Regions from separate parts of the Homo sapiens genome. Here regions 1, 2, 3, 4 and 5 are each linked to region 6. The links are contacts of gene promoters, found by promoter capture Hi-C in blood cells and fetal thymus (Javierre and others, 2016). All regions are on one chromosome and are shown on one strand. The core of a region is centred on a gene start or on the middle of the fragment in contact, and the rest is flanking DNA. Distances in the headings are between cores, read along the strand shown.

Region 1 (2,889 bases), core at 141-2,640, 4.4 Mb after region 6:
AAAAGAATATTAAGCGCCCCTCACAGCTCTGTATCTTAAATTCCTGAAGATATTTCGCCAAGGCTTTCATCAGTCTCGGCTTTCCTTATTAACATCCCTGTCCATACATCTTCTCCTATTTAGGGCATCAAGAGTCAATTTCTTCCAAGATGTACATTAGAAATTTAACAATAATCTGCCAAAAGATCTCATACTCTTAGAATATTTCTCCACCTAAACAGATGTTCTTTGCAAACCTTATAAGCAGACCTGTTGAGGAAATGTGGCATCCAACACCTAGTTTGAACTAAATATTAAAGTTTTCCCAAAGCAAACTCAGTGAAAAGGGGAGAAAATGAAATGAGACTGTGAACCTCAAAAAATCATCCTATGTGATACAGTCTGTTGAATAGCATTCCCCACAATGGTTTTAGAGAAAGTGATATGGAGGTGGGAGGATCCCAGGCAATAAATGTGTTAAAGAAGGATCAAAATAACATCGGGGGAAGGAATGAAAACTAACCAGTGTGATTTTAAAGCTGCGTTGTTATCTAGATGGGAGAGATCTGAGGAAAGGGACCTGTCGTTAGGGTAGAAGATAATGGCACACTATGGTCTCTCCTTTTCTGGAGTTTGCGTTAACTACTGTGGGCTCAGAAACAGGCTTAATGACTTTTCCAGCATTTGGTCTGGCGCTTTATCAGTTCACTTTAACAAGAACGTAAGCCAGGAAAGCCTAAAAAATGGCTGCAGCCAAACATGCCCTCCTCCATGCTGCTGTTTGCAGCTCTGTAAATGTATGCCTGGATGGTACAGCTAAAGGACAACTCCCGAAGGTCAAATGAATACACACAGTCCGTGAGTCAGAAATCTGGAGGGCTGTGTGGACGGAGACATTGCTCCTGCTGTTTTGCTGCTGTGAAATGCTCAGTGAAACCTAATTGAATTTGACAATTATAAATTACATATTGAAACCGTATAGTTCACCTAAGGAATAGCAATGAAAACAGTGAAGACACCAGAAGCCAGAGTTCAGGAAATGTCATATTCACATAGAAATACTTTAAATTTTTCTCAAAGCTTTATTTTCTCTTTTTTCAAGAAAAGCTCCAGACCACCCAGTTGCACTGGTGGAAGTCCTTTTGGGAAGCTGTACATAAAATCATCACTTTAATTCAGCTTTTGCCCCCATTGTCATACTAAGGCTGTAAGCATATGTATAATGAAGGAAACGAACTGTCAAAAAAGAAGAAAAGAGCACAGTAGATAAGCTCATTCTTCTCTCTTGTCCTTAGGAGCTGATTATACCCTATTGGAGGGGATTTGTGGAAGTTCAAAAATCTTTAAGAGGGAGGTAAAGATTAAAGGGACGTGTATCATGGCCCACGCTCCCCTCTCACTCCTCACAGTTCTGTATCTGAGCACAGCAGTTTGGACCCCGTTGTATGAGCATTTGCCACCACCTAATTCCTTCTCAGCCCAGAGGAAGCCTTATTTAAGGAAGGGAATCCACATCCTTGCTCTCCTTCTAGAGCTGTGTGCGCTTTCCCACACAGGCCCTCCCCACGCCACCCTTTAAGTATGTCCTGTGCCTAGAACCTTGCAGGATGAACCATTGACTATATCTTTTCTATAAATGACACAATGGGAAGAAGTAAGAAATTCCTTCAGGAACAGTTAAGTGTAAAACAAGCTGGGATGCTCGTAGTCTTTCCTTAAAAGTTGATTGGAACATAAGCTTACTGCCCAGTCCAGATGTCAGCCTAGGAACAGCTGGCATAGAGAGCCAATGTTTTGTTCTGAGGGGACCTCATCCTTTTTCTTCCCAAGGTCTCTTGGTCTAATTAAATTTCAGGGAGACAGAGCCTTGGCAGAAGGTTAAAGGAAGCAGCTAGACTGCAGTATTGGAGCTAGGCTCAAAACTAAATTGAGAAGTTTAACTGGGTGCGTCTCTGGTTTCAATGAAATACTTTTACAGTGTATGGTAGCAAGGTCTGTTTCTAAGCCTTTGAAAAACATTTTTCTTTTTCCTTAATTGTAGTTCCCTGGTTGTTTTTATATTGTGAGCTACTTGTAGAAAACTACAGGAAACATAATTACAATACAAAGCTCCATTTCCCAAGCCTACCAAGATTATTTGAAGCCAAACTGGGTTTTAGGGTTTTGCTGACTATGAGTTCACAGCCATGAAATGCATCCTATGTCGTGCTGGTTGATTTACAGCCAGTGTGATGTGATTAAACAATAACCATGTTTCTCCACACCGTCTAGCCGCTATAGGATTGAGAGAGGGGAGGGATGGGCTGCATGACTCCACATTGCACAGCTTCCTCTGGGGAAAAAGAATGAGTATCTTTGTGTGACGCTTATAGCAAAATAGAAGCCTGTAGAAATATATACAAGTTTATTTAGGGAGGGGAAAGAAAAATAAATTACTTCGTTTTTCTGCTTATATTGCTATTTCCTTGTAGCGCTATGTTAAATTGCTAATTACTACTTTTTGTATTCTACTTTTCCTGAAGAATCTGTATATGGACTTTTAGGGCCAGCAGAAATAACTTGTTTTAGTACTATTAACACTCTGGGGAGGAAACTGGTACTTCAGTGTATTGCGAAATGCAAAGCGTTTGAAAAAGTAGTGATGGATGATGAGAACGACAGCGAGAGTCGCTGCGTGTACTGCTGCAGCCCCATTGCAAGCCCACGGTGCAGACATTCAGCAGGATCCAGACAGCCTCTGCTCTAGAAGGCTCAGCAGAGAAGGTGAGCTCCAAACCCAGGGCAAAGCAGGTCCCACCCCTGCCCTCTCGACCATCATGAATCTAGAACAAATTCCCCACCTGCCAAGTTTCAGGGAAGTCTGAAGAAAATAAGCAGGAAAGGCTTTCAGTGGCAGCTTGACTGGCTGTT
Region 2 (2,888 bases), core at 116-2,615, 4.4 Mb after region 6:
ATTCAGCCCCGTCCTTAGTAGAAAAATTTCTACAATAAACGAAAAGAGCGTTTGGTTTTCGATTGTTTTAAAGACAAAGTGATCCATATTGCCTGTCTACATGGTTGGATTAATCCGATAGTTGCCCTCCTGGGGGCAGACCTCCACGGGAAGTTTGTGTGATGGGATAATTTAATGTCATCTAAGTCCCCTGGAGGGGCGGTTCCCCTAACTACTCACCCAGGAGAAAGCCAGCCAACACCTACCTGATCGTTCCCGCCTCGGGATGGCCCACCTATCGCCCCTTGGCAGGAAAGCCCCCGCCTCGAAGGGCGTTTCGGGGGCTCAGAGCCGAGCTAAGCTGCAAGAGGGGGCCATGGGGAATGCGGGAAGTGAATCTTTAACTTTGGTGCCCGGCTTCAAAAGACTCAGGGCTTCTTGTGTTCAGGCAGAGGTAAATGGAGATTCAAACTGTCGTCTTGCATTAACAATCCGGAATAAAAATAAAATTCGTAAAGGGATAGATGATCGGAAAGAACAAATGGTGCATGTGTGCGCGAACGAGCCCCAGTTTCTCTCCATCCAGGTCCCCAGCGGACTCAGAGCGGCCGCCGCACTCCACGGCCTGGGAGGACAGAGGCCCCGCAGCCTCCCAACCTCGGCTCATGTGGGGGGCGCGCCGCGCAGGGTGGGCGAGTCCCCAGGCCCCAGAGTCTGCCGGAGCCAGGGTGCGCGGTGCGGCGGGAGCCGGCCGTCGGAGGACTGCAGGGCGAAAGCGCCTTCCTGGGGCTGGAGCAGAAGGCGTGTGCCCCTGCACGGACGCGCCTTGGCTGTGGGTGTGGGAAGAAAGGCTTTGCCCCGTGAGACAGACCCACAGACAGCCCCGGAGCCGCCGGCGGGGTGAGGTGGGCTGCAACCTTGCAGGTGGCTGGCTGTTCCCAGGTCTCCGGCCCGGCGCCGCAGCGGACCCAGGCGCCGGGGCCGCAGCCAGCCTTCCTTCCGAGTGCTCCCTTCGCGGAACCCTGCGCCCTGGGACCTTCCTTCCGACGTCCCTCACCCCGGCCGGGGAGTGGCACCAACGCGGACGCACCGCCGGGCCTCCTGCGGGTAAGGCGCGGTCGGCCCCCAGCTCTGAGCCTTCTGGGCAGGAGCCCCGGGGGCCTGGGCCGGGGCCGGTGTTTGCACCTCTCAGGACAGGGACAAGGCCGACACCCGGCTCGGTGCAGCCGGCCTCCCCCGAGGACCTGAGGGCCGACGCCTCCGGGAACCGCTGGTCCTCGCGAGTGGGTCGGCGCCTGGCAGCGCGCGCCGGTGACCTGGTGGTCCGTCTGCTCCCAGGCCGCCCCTCACAGGCTTCCCGCCGCTTCCCCGCGAGCGTCAGCAGAAAAAGGGACGATGTGGAAGCCCGGAGGCCCCTTGGCCGACCCAGGCTGGGGCTCTCAGGCTGGGGGCACCTCACCCCGGCAGGTCCCGCGCCTCGGGAACCCGGGGCCAGGCAGCCGTCCTGGGCGCCCGCACCGCGCACTGCGCGTGCTACGAGCGCCCCCTGCCGTCGGAGGCGTTGTCTCCGCGGCGCCTCTGCCCGCGCCGGGCTCCAAGGGCCGGCTCCGCCTGTCCCCGCACAGCGTCCCCTGGGAACCGGGTCTCCAGAGAAGGAGGCCTGGGGAAGACCGCGCCGCCCGCGTGGGACCCCGCAGGGCCTGGCACCTGGTTTTCTAGGCTGCAACTCTCATCCCTCAGGGTCCGGGCGGGAACAGCCCCATCGGGGAGACCCTCTCAGACTTCCAGGCACAGACCACGGACGCTTTTGTTCCTGGAGTGGAGGGAGGTGACCCGAGACTGGGGCTTTCAGCCACCGCTACGCATTCCTTCCAGGCGGCCCTTTTAATTGACGTACACGTTACAGAAAAAGCAAGGCCGCTCCATCCAGTGAATTACATTGTGGGAGATGCCAAGGAATGTATTTACTGGCAGCCAGGTTTGCCAATAAAAGTTGCAAATAAAGACTGCTGGTTTCCAGGAAAATGTACTTCTGTTTTTTAAACACTCCTTAGTCTTAATTACCAAAAACTGAGCCTCCAAAGAACCGGTTTCGAGAACAGGACCAGTGAGTGGCGGTGCTGGCGAGGCCTCACACCCCCACGTGCAATCACACACCCCGATGTCGCCTATGGGAACAAGGACCATGCACACCTATGGCTTTGCCCACAGAGAGGCTCGCCCGTATTTACATACGCAGCAGACACAGACACAGGCGAAACGTTGGCACACAGAGAGGTATGCGCTCGGATTAGGGCTGTTTAGTTTGGAAGTGAAGAAATAAGAAAAGACAAACTATGGCAAACAGGCGAATTTCCACAGAAATAAATGTCTGCGAGGAAAGGAGGCACTTGCTCTGTAGTGTTTAGTTATGGTCGCCCTGGTAGTTCTTTTTAGTCCGACCGGGTTGACTATAAATGAAGGCAGCAGAGAAATGCAGAATTTACATTTACTAAAGGTCCGCTTTGGCTTGGGGTCACAAGGACCCCAGTGGGAATTAGAAAATCTCCCCACTCACTAGATGGAGCAGCACCTCCCCCCACAAAAAAAGGGGTTTGGGGCAGAGTGTGCACGCTAATGAGAGGCAAATTTATTCCATGTTTCTCCAATCTTAAACACGGACACTCATAACCACAATTATAAAGACTGGTAGGATGCACAGAACACTTAGTATGCGGTCATCCTGCTGTGTGCTTTAAACACTCCTTTCACCTAATCCTCACAAGGACGCTGACATGGATATTATGATCTACATCTTACACATGAGGAAACTGAGCTTAAAGAAAAGAGAGAGCTTTCCCAAGATTACACAGCCCTCGCAGTTGCACTCTGCACAGGCTCACTGGATCTAAGACGCCACTTATGATAAG
Region 3 (3,053 bases), core at 89-2,588, 4.4 Mb before region 6:
GGGTACTGGCTCTTCCCTGGGGGGGTCCTGTCGCGCTAGAGGAGGGGCGCAGGGACCCCACGTCAGACCAGTCGCTTTGTTTTCGAGGCTGGGGGCGAGCTTTGCGGGCAGGTAGGAATGAAGCCGAACCCCTCAGTCTCATAGGACAATTCATACTGTACTGGTCTGGGCTTTGGCCGGAGGCTTGGGCATTTCACTTTCGCAGAGGCCGAAACCCAGCTCCAGGTGTGGGCGCCCTCGGCGGGCGGGGTCCGAACCTCCGTGCGGCTCTAGGTGCCGACTGGATGGGGTGGGTGGCTAGGTGGGGGATGAACTTGCACCCCTAGAGGGATCCTGTGGGGGCAAGTGTGAATGCGTGTGTAAGCGAGGCAAAAAAAGATGAGAGAGAGAGGAGAATAAAGTCAAAGCTGTTTCCACAACTTTGGCCGTGGTGGGCAAGCGCCGGAGCGGGGATTTCGGGTTTCGGAGCTGGCTTGGGGCAGTCTGATTGTGCCGGGGCTCTGTAGGGACACGCAGGAGGCGAGGTGCCGCTTGTTCTGACAACCTGGCGGGTAGACTGGCAAAGGCAGCACGCCGGGAGAGCTAGTCGTGTCATCTGGGGGGGCGTCAGGCGGGAGTGGCCCAGCCAGTCGGACGGGTTTTTGCCGGGAGCCGCGAGCCGGTGCCAGCGGCGCCCGGGCTGGGCCGCCTAGCGTCTGTGCGCGCCCCGGCCCGCATCCCGGCTCCCGATCCGGAATCCCCGGCCCCAGAGAGCCGAGGGCAGAGCGACGGTGGCCGGGGAGCGCACGGTGCCCCTGTCCGAGGAAAGCTCAAGAGGAGGCCGAGGAGAGGACCAGTGCAGCGAGCGGGCCGGTCCCGGGCAGGGCGCCGGGTCATGGAGGAGCCGCGCAGCAGCGGGCAGCCGAGTCCCGAGTCCCAGACTCGGCTGCGAAGCGGCGGAGCCCGCGGCCAGACAGGGCCGGGAAGCGCCTGCCGCGCCGAGAGCCCCACGAGCGCCCGGACGCGGTCCCAAGCAGCTCCTACCCGCTACGCACGACCCCCGCTGCATCCCGAGGTCTGCCCCAGCCTTTTAGGTCTGATTGTCCTCGCTCGCTTCCTCTCCCCTTCCCCCTCCCCCGCGGCCTCCCCCTCCGTGCGCTCCGGCTGGGCCCCCTCCCCCTCCCTCCCTCCCTTCCTCCCTCCCTCTTTCCCTCCCTTCCTCCTCTCGGGCTCTCCCTCCTTCCCTCCCTCCCCTCTCCCCACCCGGGGCTCCTCTCCCTCGCCCACACTTTCTTTCTCACACACGCACGCAGACACATTCTCCCTCTCTGCGCTCTCTCCTTCGGTCTCCCTCTCTGCCTCTTTCTCTTTCACTTTTGCATGCCCTGCAACCTTTTAAAATGTTGCCCCTTCCCTGTGATTCGCCAGACGCCGCGCCGCGGCCCCCCGCGCGCTCGCCCGCTCCCTCTCTCGCTCGCTTTTTGTCTCTCGCGCTCCCTCTCCCCACTCCGATTTGCTACACTGAGACTCCCGTCAATGGACTGCATTGAGAGCCGGCTCCGGCGCGAGTTGCCTCTCCGCTTCACGCTCGATTTCCAGGCATTCTTCCCTTATTAAGTATTCGTGTAATATTAATAGTCATGAATATCTGCTATTAGGAGGCTCCAGGAACGCTGCCCAGCGCGGTTATTAGAAGCTCAAGCGAAGCCGCCGCTAAGAAAAGAGGGGGAGACACGGATTAAGGAACACGCACGCACCCACACACTCACACATACTTTTTCCTTTTTCCTTTTTTGGGGTTTTTCATTTTTAAAGAACTTTGAATCATAACCAGTCGCGGCAGGATAGAGACCGTGGGTTCGACCAGCTGAAGGCGCCGCGCGAATCGGTGGTTCAAGTTCGGATGGATCCGAGCCGGGCTCCCGCGCTCCGGGGAGCGTCGGCGCCGTGACTGGAGTCCTGGGTGGCGCGGGGCTCTCGGCGCCTTTTGTGTGGGGCGCGCTCGGGCGGCGGGGCAGCCGGGCGCTCCAGGCTTGCTTGTTTTTTTCCACCCTGACTCGTTACCCCAGACTCTTCGCAGATGTTAGTTCACAGTTTTTCAGCCATGGTGAGTCCCATCCCCACCCCCGTTGCTGTTTCTTTAGGAATTGGATTCTGGAAACCTGGTGCCGTGGAGCTGCCCGAAACCTCGGGTTTCACGCCCAGCTTTCCTTCAGGACACCCTCTCCATTTGCATCCCCCACCCCACCTTCCGCCTTTCTCTCGCTCTTTTCCATCCCTAAATCGAGTGCATTACCCCCTACCCCAGCCCCCGCTCGACCTCTCCGAGCACGCAGACCTACCTCGCCGCGGCTTCCCAAGGCGTGTTTCTCCCCACGTTCATCTTGATTTCCTTGAGTCTTCACTTGTCCCCGAGATGTTCTCAACATTTGATGCTTAAACTGTCTGCAGGAAAAGTGCAGCGCGGTGTGCCCCCTACCCTCGGGACCTGCGGCCGAACCGCCGAGGGTTCGCGGTCTCTGGAATCAACTCTCTTCGCTTGTTTTGCAAGGGAATTGCAATAGAGAAACCTAAAGTCAGGCGTTTCTTCTGCCCTTTGGGGCTGGGGTGGAAGGGGCGGGGGGGGGGGGCCACAGCCCCGGGGTGCACCTCTCTCTTTTAAACCCAATAAGGCTGAATCTTTCTATTTTAAACCTTGACTTGACGTCCCCCTTTCCCTATCCAAACCATAAATCGACTCTGTCGAGAAAAAGGCTCCTAACAGAGGAAGCGAAAAAGACAGACCCCGATCCTGCAGTTAAAACCTTCTTTAAGCTGGTAATTTAAACGTGTGTTTTTGTTACAGCCCCTCTGCGAAATATGTTTCTATTTAAGTAGTCATGAAACGGTAACAGTCTTTGAACGTTTATGATTTTTTTCTCTCCAAATAAATGGAAGAGAATAAACAATAACGCAGTGGCAGACAGGTTCAAATCGGGGGAAAAGAAAAGGCCGCTTCTGCTGTTTAGTATTTAGGAGGAATTTTAATTTTGCTTAAGAGAGATTTCACGCTGCAGTTTAATGGGCTGTGTTCC
Region 4 (2,882 bases), core at 299-2,798, 4.4 Mb before region 6:
TTTCAGATTCAGATGAAATCATTGCAGTCTCCCGGATTAACTAAATGGATGAGCCAAATTCACTGCTGACATTGATGCCCAGGTGTTCAAGTCAAACCTCCATGATCACAGTTTTAAGATGTGGTTGGCAACATGCTGCCTTAAGTTCTCTAAAGTGTTCAGGCTGTGGGATGAGAAGTGATAGGACTTTGGAGCAAAGGCTGTCCTGACTCATCCTGAAAACTGGAAAATGGGGTACATTTCACAGCTCAGTAGCTTCATGTCTTAAGAACGAGAAATCACTTCATTATGGTTATAAAACAGTAAAGGATGGATAACATCCTTCAAAACCCCAACCACAAGAATTGCCAAGAGAAAGAGTGATTTTTAAATTTTTATTCATTTGCTTATATTATGATCTTTTTGTAATTACAGAATAAAAGAAAGACTCAGTAACACCAAGACCTCCTCCAGCCCTCATTTCCACATCCCTATAGTTACCTGGGGGTGAGGGTGGGAGTGGGCAATGGATTCAGAAGGAAGCAGTAATCTTCAAAGGAAAAAATAAGTTAAATACTAACCACCAGAATGGCAAGGGCTATGAGAACCCTCCGCTGGGGGAGACTATACTCAATATAATGTAGTTGTTGCATATTCTGTTTCCTACCCCCATACTCCATAGCCAGTTGAATGGAAGCACCCAAGATAATGGTTCCAAAAAGGGTAACTATTTCCATGGAATATCAGGGAGCATGGGCGTGTTGAGTCTTAACCTTGAGGATGTTGCTTCAAGTCAGAATGATCTTGGAGATTCCCATGAAGTTCAGAGACTGGGACACTGAGTGGGTTTCTCTTCTTGCAACATGAGACATGATCAGATGGTTCCAGCTTCTTGGATCCATGAGAACAAGGTGGGCTTGGGGGAGACCCATTATTAGGAGATAATGAGTTATAGGGAATCTCTAACCAGTCATGGGACTGCACCTATTAAACCATAGGTTAAAGTTCTGATGAGAAACTTCGAAAATTAAACCAGCCTCATTATTAAATGAGACCATTCTTGGAGGGATTTTTCTTTTCAAACACTCAAAGAGATGAAGGTCTCTCCAAACCTCACCTCCACCACTGCTTTCCGTCTCTGCGCTCTATAAGGTTCTGCAGCATCTTGCTAGTTTAGCTCAGGTAAAGCCAGGGGGAGAGCTGGGAGGGAAGGCTGGAGTGGCAGTCCCTGACACGCTCTGGGAAAGCCTGTGTTCCTCAGTGACATAGCTTAGAAGTGGGGAGAATCCACCTGCCTGTTCCTGCAGGGACTTTTTGCAACTAACTTGATCAGGAGATTTGAAAGGAAGGCTGGTGCTAACTGAACAGGGAGGTGCCTCGGGGAATCCTGGGACTGGAAAATCCCTTGCTATACCCTCTAGTATAACTCCCAGCCCTTGGAAATTAGTGCCATTTCAAGAGAATCAAGTCACTGGCCTGTGACTGCGATGCTGGGCTACTTAGGAAAACCATCTCAATTGGTGTTACTAAGTTTGAAGAAAGCTCTTCTAAGGAGAGGAATCTAGAAACAAGAGTTGAGAGAGCCCTCTTGAATTTCCCTCCTACCCATCATCTCCCCTCCTCCCCTTACTGAGCATTTTGGCTGAACTTACTGTTTCTTTGTTTTTCCCTCTTTGCTGAGAAAACTTTAAGAACCTTCTACTCGGCTTAGATTTAACCACAACCTTTACTGAATCTGGCTTATGAAAACCAGACTTCTCTAAGAGACGGGTCTTCTGGCAGCAATTAGTCTGACTTTTCTTTAACAAAATTCTTTGTAATGCCATTCAGAAAACAGGTCGGTTGGTAGGAGTTTGTGGCACAGAGTGCGTATGTGTGTGGGTGAGTACAGGAGGGAGTAGTTGGGGTGGGAGGATGATGTTACAGAGGGCCAATTTGTATGATTTGGTGGAAAAAAAGTTCCAATGTTAACACATTAACTTTGGGAGCTGTGAAATATTTAATTAGTGCACGGGTTGGGATCCTATTAAAACTGGCTCTATTTCTGAAGGCTGCCCTGAAAATCTGCTTGTCCCTTTTTCTATGTGCAAAGTGTAAAACAGCATTGCCATCTCTCCTTGCCACGGAATTATTTCAAACGGTTTACTACAGCAGTTTGTCTTTACATGCAGAGCTGCCTAGAACAAACAAAAGAAAGATCCAATGAGTGAATTTTCCAATGTAGAGGATTCCAGGGGTAGATATGAGGGAAGGGAGAGAGAACTTGGAGGAGTAAGGAAACAATACTGTCATCAGCCCAGAAGCAGCTTCTCAGTTTCTGACTCCTGGGGCAGCAGCATAGCCCTAGAGATGCCCTCCTCCTCCCCACATGTATTTAAAAATCCAACCCCACAACACACACACAACAAACAAGAGACCTATTCATTGAGTCTGCAAAGCCACCTTCTTCTCGTGGTTATGCAAATACTAAATTGAATCAACCAGCTATAACTGTTCAGTCCATTGCTGAAATATGATAGAAAAAAAGTTGAGTATTCCGAGGAAATTGATTCCAACAGTTCATTTTCAGTTAGTGTGGATGTCTGTGTGTCTGAAGGTGGAGACACAAACACATTTTTTTTTTGTTAAAGTTGAGGCTGCCATTCTGAAAAGCAGCCTACAATTTTACATTCCCCCTCTGCTTTCTCTCCTGGGGAGGTAAGAATTTGAGCCATTTGAGATGCAATGCAGCAAACTCTGGGCAGCCCATCCCTGGGGGAGAGGACTCCTCCCTGAACTCCCTCCTCCTCCTCCTCCTGGTTTCCTTTCCTTGACAGGACCCGAGGTCCAGTTGAATTGAGAGCCCACCCCAGGCGGGAAGACAGCCAGCTCCTGCATTCAATTCTGCCTGTAGGAAGCAAGGG
Region 5 (2,800 bases), core at 185-2,684, 4.6 Mb after region 6:
ACTCTTAAAACGATCCGCACAAAATAGCTTTTATCTCAGATCATTTTCACTCTTCTTTTAATTACTGGCTTTTGTAGCTTGGGTTTTACCTCCAGGCTGGTGGCCAAAGTGTTTTTACGTCCAACTAGGCCGTCTCTTCTACGGTACCTTAGTACCGCAGTAACTTTCCCTATCAACATGGACACAGACTAGAGTCAACCTTTAATTTTCTCAGTTGGATGGGTAATCTATTTTTGGGAGAAGCAAATGTCCCCTTCGTTTGGTCCTTGTTGGTTCTTCGTTAGCGAGGGAGAATGCCGGTGGGGCCTTCAGCAGCAGCATCCTAACAGTGTTGCAGCGGTGACTAGTTTTTGGCTTTAAAAAAGACAGACCCGTCGGGCGCGGTGGCTCACGCCTGTAATCCCGGCACTTTGGGAGGCCGAGGCGGGCGGATCACGAGGTCAGGGGTTCGAGAGCAGCCTGGCAACACAGTGAAACCCCGTCTCTACTAAAAACACAAAAATTAGCCAGCATGGTGGCGCGCGCCTGTAATCCCAGCTACTCGTGAGGCTGAGGCAGGAGAATCGCTTGAATCCGGGAGGCGGAGGTTGTGGTGATCCGAGATGCCACCACTGCACTCCAGCCTGGGCAACAGAGAGAGACTCCGTCTCGAAAAATAAACAAATAAATAAATATAAATAAAAAAATAAAAAAGACTGACTTGCTTGATGAGCCAGATATTCACCTATTTAGTCTTCAAGTCTCTAGACCTATTATAAAATATGTCAAGCACCTGAGAAGCTGTGAGCGGTTACCATATGTCAGCTTTTCATTCAGCAGAAGGGGAGGGGGGCTCCTAAAGTTTTTTTTCTCCCTTGAAAGGGAAGGCTGTTTGGGGACCCGAAAATATAAACAAAACCTCCAGAAACCCATGTTTTGGAACAAAATGGGTGTGGAAAGCTAAGCAGGCCAGTTGGGCAGACAGGATTTGGGGATGGAGGCTGAGGGAGGCAGGGGACTCTGTAGAACCTGTGGGTAGCCGTGCCTGTCTGAGTGAGGGGACAGAATGACAGTCTGTGCTGGTGGCAGAGAAAGGGACAAGCGAAAGAGGCAAGGAGTGGCAGATTCTCTTTAGGAGAATTTTCCATCTGGAAAGAAGGTTTATGCATCCATCACCCATCTCTGGTAAGATGCTTGGTGTAGGTGGAAGGGCGTATGTTGGCATTGGCCTGAGGGAATCTGCCTTACTGAGCTCGGCTAAAAAGGAATTTAATAAACTTCTTTTGTTTTGTGGTTTCTACCTATGGAAAACTTTTCTGCAGTTGGAGGGCTCTCAGAAGAGATCCAAGACAGGAAACCTTTCCATTTGTAAATCAGTTACAAAAAATATGCAGTTGAGTTAAGCATTTTATGGCAATAGGAATTTAATAAAAAGGGAAAGAATATAGCTGTATAGAGTAGGTAAGCATGACTGGAGAATAAATTTATTCTTTTTGTTTGTTTCATTTTGTTTTTATTTGCTAACACCAGAATGTGTAATTTCATAGCAATGGAAAAATAATAAGCAATTTTGGGTGTCTCAAATTCATTATAATGTATTCCTGAACCCTTTCTAACTAGGATATTATTTTGAGGCCAAAACTGATTGATGTCTAGACTTTGGATGTCTCTACAAAGTGAGAATTGGAGCTGGCAGTGTCATAACACCACTTGAAAACATTTCTTCTGGCCTTTATTATTTGCACTTTTTCTTCAAGTTTTCATTCACTTTTCTAATTTTTTAAAACTCTCCTAGCACAATGACATAGCGCAATTCACTTTTATACCTTGAGTTAAAAGTGGAATTTCAATTGATGAAAATAGAGGAAATAAGGTTACTCAAATAATGCCAAGGAGTTCATATGCATCATTCAAGTTACCTTCAAGACTGCCATTTAAATGACTTCTTTTTTTTTTTAAGTAAGATTAATATATTTGTCTTTATAGTAACACCTTCAAAAATATGCGATTTTTAATATTTTGGGGATGAAGTGACCCATGAAGGCATAAGTGCCTTGGTCCATGAGAGTCATCATGAAGCCATGATTTATTTTTTGTTTTTCTTTATATAAATATAATCACATTACAAAAGTAGGATTCTTTCCCCATCTTTCCTTAGCCTATTTTTCTTATGTAACAAAATATCATAAATATTAACTAGTTTTTAAAGTTTTAAATATTACTTTGAGAATTTAATTTATTTTTAAAGATTCTAAATTTATTTTTCTTTTTATGTGATAACCTGCACAGCGTTTACTTGCTATTCACTGTTTTTTCTAGAAAACATAAACAACTTGGCAAATCTCCTATTAATCTTTTAAAGAGGAAGAGGTAGAAGTCACCCTTGCTCTTTGGAACTGAGAAAAGTGGAGTCATGGAAGATTGAAAGTCAACCCTAAGGCCAATGCAGTTTGACATTGTCATTAATCATGGGGAATTTGGAAAGAGGGCAGTATGCTGGAAGATAGGATATGAATGTAAATATCTTGCTACATCTGGAGAATTTTGCAGATGTTTGGTTCTTTGGTTTGCCTGACATTTCTTCTTTCTACTGGTGAGAGCATCTTCGTATCCTTAGAGAGAACTCTGTTTCTCCCATTCAGTGTTGTCCTAGTGTAGCCACACTGCTATGACACCCTAGACGTAGAGAGTCATGTGACCTATGCATGTCTATTCTACCTGTCCTCTGGCCACAGTACTTGGCCAAGTCTAGGCACAGGGTCACCCTCTGTCACATAGAGTGTTTCCCTGGGATTGTTAGTAAAGGCAATGAGAGAGAGGC
Region 6 (3,181 bases), core at 98-2,597:
CGCTACAATTTAGACTTTTTTTTTTTCTGTTTGGTGCAGAAGAAAGGAAGAAAACCAGAGCTTAAAGGCGTTTAGAAAGGAAATAGCCCTGTTAGTTTTTCGGTTTTGACTCAAGCTGTCGTCGATAGCAGCTTGCACCTAGCACAAAGCCAGCTGCAGAAGTATTTTGTTGCAGGGTAGGCTACACCTACACAGGGTCTGTGCCTGAGCATCAAAAGACAGTGCAGGTGTGTGTGGGTCCGGGTGTGCGTGTGCGTACGTGATGTACGTGTGTGCGTGTGGGTACGTGTGTGTGTAGCCCAACAAATAAGCCCAAGAGGCGCATCAAGATTAGAAAGAAGTCCGCACACCAGCGCTTGCCTTGGAAATTTCCTAAAGCGCTGAGAGTTGGTTGGTAAATCACTAGTATCCGAAAACTGTCTTATCAGAGGCTCCTTCCCCGGTGCCCTACTCGCCCCCTAAAACAGGTGTCGCTGTGTCCCTTGAAGCGGCCTTTGGCCCGCTGGGGCATCGCAGGTGGGTAAAATTCAGAGGACATTCGGTGTTTATTTCTGGGGCCCCACGTGTGCAAACCAAACCCCCGGGGCCTGGGCGTGTGCGCGCGCTCGCGTGCCTTGTGTGCGGGCGGGCATGGGGGCGCTCGGCGCGGCTGGCGGGCGTGCGCGCGCGCGTTTGTGTGTGTGTGTGTGTGTGTGTGTGTGTGTGCTCGTGCGGGGGGCCGGGCTGCGTGCTCACGCGCTCCAGGCTGCGCCCAGAGCTCAGCTGCTGGGTTGGAGAAAAAGAGGGTAGGCAAGCGCAGGGGGCGGGCGGCCGAGGAGCGCTTTCGAATTAATCGAGCTAGCTTAGCTGTTTTTCCCTCTCCCGCTCCTTTAAACCCCCCTGCATCGTAGAGAGCGGGCTGGATTCTCTGTGGTGCTGATGGAGGAGGGGGAGCAGGTTGAAACAATCGAGTGGGCGCGCCAGGACTCCCCAGCTCCTGGCGGGGAAGGGAGGGGGAGCCCCTGTTCTGCGCAGGGAGGCGGCGGGGCTGGGGGGCCCCCGGAACGAGGAAGAGGCAGGGGTGACCGCTAGAATAGGAAAGTGCTCACCCCCGGGAGGCAAAATTTCGTTCAGATCGCACATTAATTGGAGATATCTGATTAATTCCAGCTTCTGATGACTATAAATGGCGATTCTCTACCAAGGTGTCTATATTAAAAAAAAAATCATTCCGTGTCATCCCCCACGTCAGGCCTGCTCGTGGGCGTGAGGCTGTACTTCCTCCGCCCCCTTCTAATGGAGTGAACCATTCCCAGCTCTCCCCCCCCCCTCAGCCTCTCTCTCTCTCTCTCTTTCTCTCTCTCTCTCTCTTTCTGTCTCTTCCTCGCTCCCTCTCTTTCTCTCCTCCCTCTGCCTTCCCAGTGCATAAAGTCTCTGTCGCTCCCGGAACTTGTTGGCAATGCCTATTTTTTGGCTTTCCCCCGCGTTCTCTAAACTAACTATTTAAAGGTCTGCGGTCGCAAATGGTTTGACTAAACGTAGGATGGGACTTAAGTTGAACGGCAGATATATTTCACTGATCCTCGCGGTGCAAATAGGTAAGTGGCCGCTCAGCCCGGCTGGAGGCTGGAGGCGGGAGGCAGCCTGCCCCGGCCCGAGGCGCGGAGGGGGACTAGCGGGTCCGCGGCCGCCCCAGGGTGCGGAGAAGCCGGCAATCCCCCGAGGGTGGGGGCATCAGTTCCTGGGGACTAGCGCGTCCCAGATCGGTTTTTCCTAAAGCTATAGATTCCAAATGTTCGCCAGGAAATGTGTGCGGCCGGACATTTTCTGGACACGGTTTTTTTCCCCCTTTTTCCTGAGCACACATCCATTTTTGTTTCCCTTTCTGGGTTTATACCAGGTTTGGTGCGCTCTGGGGCAATGTACTGGCCCCTGCGATACTGCAAGATATGATTTTGAAGAGTCGAAATGTGAATGCAGGAATAAAATGGCTAGGCAGCCAGGACTGGAAAGTTTATGTGCTGAAAGCAAAGATATTCCAGGGCTCAGACTGCTGCATTTAGAACTTTGTCATTCTCCCGCCCCTCCTCCCCCCTATATCCTAGCTGCAGCGTTTGCACGGGCACCGCAGACCCGGCTGGTGGGCAAATCGAGAGTGATAGGGAACTTCAGACCACATATTTTAACATGCTTACCATTGAAGAGGATGAATTCAGCCAAATTTACGTAGATATACTTTTCTAGATGCATTTGCCTGCTACTTTACACATTGGTGTCTGCATTTTATATATAGGAAAGGGTTAAGAAGTGTTTGGAATATGTCATGTCGGGTGTTTGTTATTTTTGTTTGTTTGGGATTGGTTATGGAAGGAATTATTTAGTCCCCATTTTATGTTAAGGAATGTTGAGTTGTAGTTACGCTGTCAGGGGTCTTTTTAAAGTTCACATTTTTACCATCCAGAATGAAGAAAAGATATAGAAGAGGGCACTAGAAAACCCCCTTCTCCGACACTGGGTCAGAACATTAATTAACGTGGCCTAAAAGTGAAAGTGAAGCAGGTTATTAATAGAATGGACAACACGGGGGAAAAAAGAAACTCCTGAAACGGAATTGTTACCTCCTATCAGTTCAGGCTGTGGCATTCTTTGCAGACAAATCCTTGCAGTATTGGGGGAGGGGGTGCTTTAGGTAATTGGTTTGGGGCAAGAAAGGAGAATGCATAATATGTTTTTTCCATAAGAAATGTGAAGGAAACAAGGTTTGGAGTTCTCTAGACCTTAAAATGGATTCTTTGCAGTGGGGTTTTATGCAACTGACATGATTTTGAGATTTTATAATGCAGAAACATTATAAAGATTTTAGAGTGTGTGAGTGCAGGATATTGGTGTTTTCCTTTAGTTCCAAAAAATGACAATGCTTTAAATCTGGTTGTTTTGAATCTTTGACATTAGTGAAAAGAGCTGCTGTAAATAATATTTCTAATGGCAGCAAATTCCTTAAATGTTGGAAATAAGTGAATGTGGCATTTTGCAATAAACCTTTGAATTTTTAGAGAGCAGGAGAGAGAGTTGTTTTTGAGATAGAAATTTTAATCGGACAAGATTTGGGACTCTGTTTTCCCGGTAGGAAATAACCTTACTTTGAGAGGTTTGGAGGGAAAAAAAAGACGGTGGTCGTGCCTGAGGGACGCGTTTTGAACAC

What was found. The method cuts DNA at HindIII sites, captures the fragments that hold promoters and counts their contacts. A CHiCAGO score of 5 or more calls a contact.
Region 1: a fragment that was not itself captured here is called in contact with the fragment with the promoter of NRN1 in region 6 in 1 of 17 cell types (naive B cells); the score reaches 6.7 in naive B cells.
Region 2: a fragment that was not itself captured here is called in contact with the fragment with the promoter of NRN1 in region 6 in 2 of 17 cell types (total B cells and naive B cells); the score reaches 14.4 in total B cells.
Region 3: a contact is called between the fragment with the promoter of TFAP2A-AS1 here and the fragment with the promoter of NRN1 in region 6, in 2 of 17 cell types (total B cells and naive B cells). The highest score is 10.5, in total B cells.
Region 4: a contact is called between a fragment that was not itself captured here and the fragment with the promoter of NRN1 in region 6, in 1 of 17 cell types (naive B cells). The highest score is 8.4, in naive B cells.
Region 5: a fragment that was not itself captured here is called in contact with the fragment with the promoter of NRN1 in region 6 in 1 of 17 cell types (naive B cells); the score reaches 5.7 in naive B cells.

The regions. Positions count from the first base shown.
Region 1 is chr6:1,625,970-1,628,858 of GRCh38, reverse strand. All of the region lies in intron 9 of GMDS (GDP-mannose 4,6-dehydratase), which reads left to right. Among named protein-coding and RNA genes, the nearest start is that of FOXC1, 17 kb to the right of the region's middle. The HindIII fragment of the contact is 658 bases long and covers 1,062-1,719 here.
Region 2 is chr6:1,603,157-1,606,044 of GRCh38, reverse strand. It overlaps FOXCUT (FOXC1 upstream transcript), which reads right to left and starts at 514. Exons shown (of 2, transcript NR_125804.1): 1 at 246-514; 2 at 1-29. RefSeq lists silencers at 1,256-1,325, 1,376-1,795. The HindIII fragment of the contact is 5,314 bases long and covers 1-2,888 here.
Region 3 is chr6:10,410,603-10,413,655 of GRCh38, reverse strand. TFAP2A-AS1 (TFAP2A antisense RNA 1) reads right to left here and starts at 1,338. Exons shown (of 3, transcript NR_033910.1): 1 at 1,289-1,338. All of the region lies in intron 1 of TFAP2A (transcription factor AP-2 alpha), which reads left to right. RefSeq lists a silencer at 739-1,098. The HindIII fragment of the contact is 20,769 bases long and covers 1-3,053 here.
Region 4 is chr6:10,385,945-10,388,826 of GRCh38, reverse strand. No RefSeq gene overlaps it. Among named protein-coding and RNA genes, the nearest start is that of TFAP2A-AS2, 17 kb to the left of the region's middle. The HindIII fragment of the contact is 4,210 bases long and covers 1-2,882 here.
Region 5 is chr6:1,375,095-1,377,894 of GRCh38, reverse strand. The region is part of intron 1 of FOXF2-DT (FOXF2 divergent transcript); the gene reads left to right. Among named protein-coding and RNA genes, the nearest start is that of FOXF2-DT, 13 kb to the left of the region's middle. The HindIII fragment of the contact is 3,385 bases long and covers 1-2,800 here.
Region 6 is chr6:6,005,091-6,008,271 of GRCh38, reverse strand. NRN1 (neuritin 1) reads left to right here and starts at 1,347. Exons shown (of 3, transcript NM_016588.3): 1 at 1,347-1,577. The coding sequence starts at 1,523. The HindIII fragment of the contact is 16,379 bases long and covers 1-3,181 here.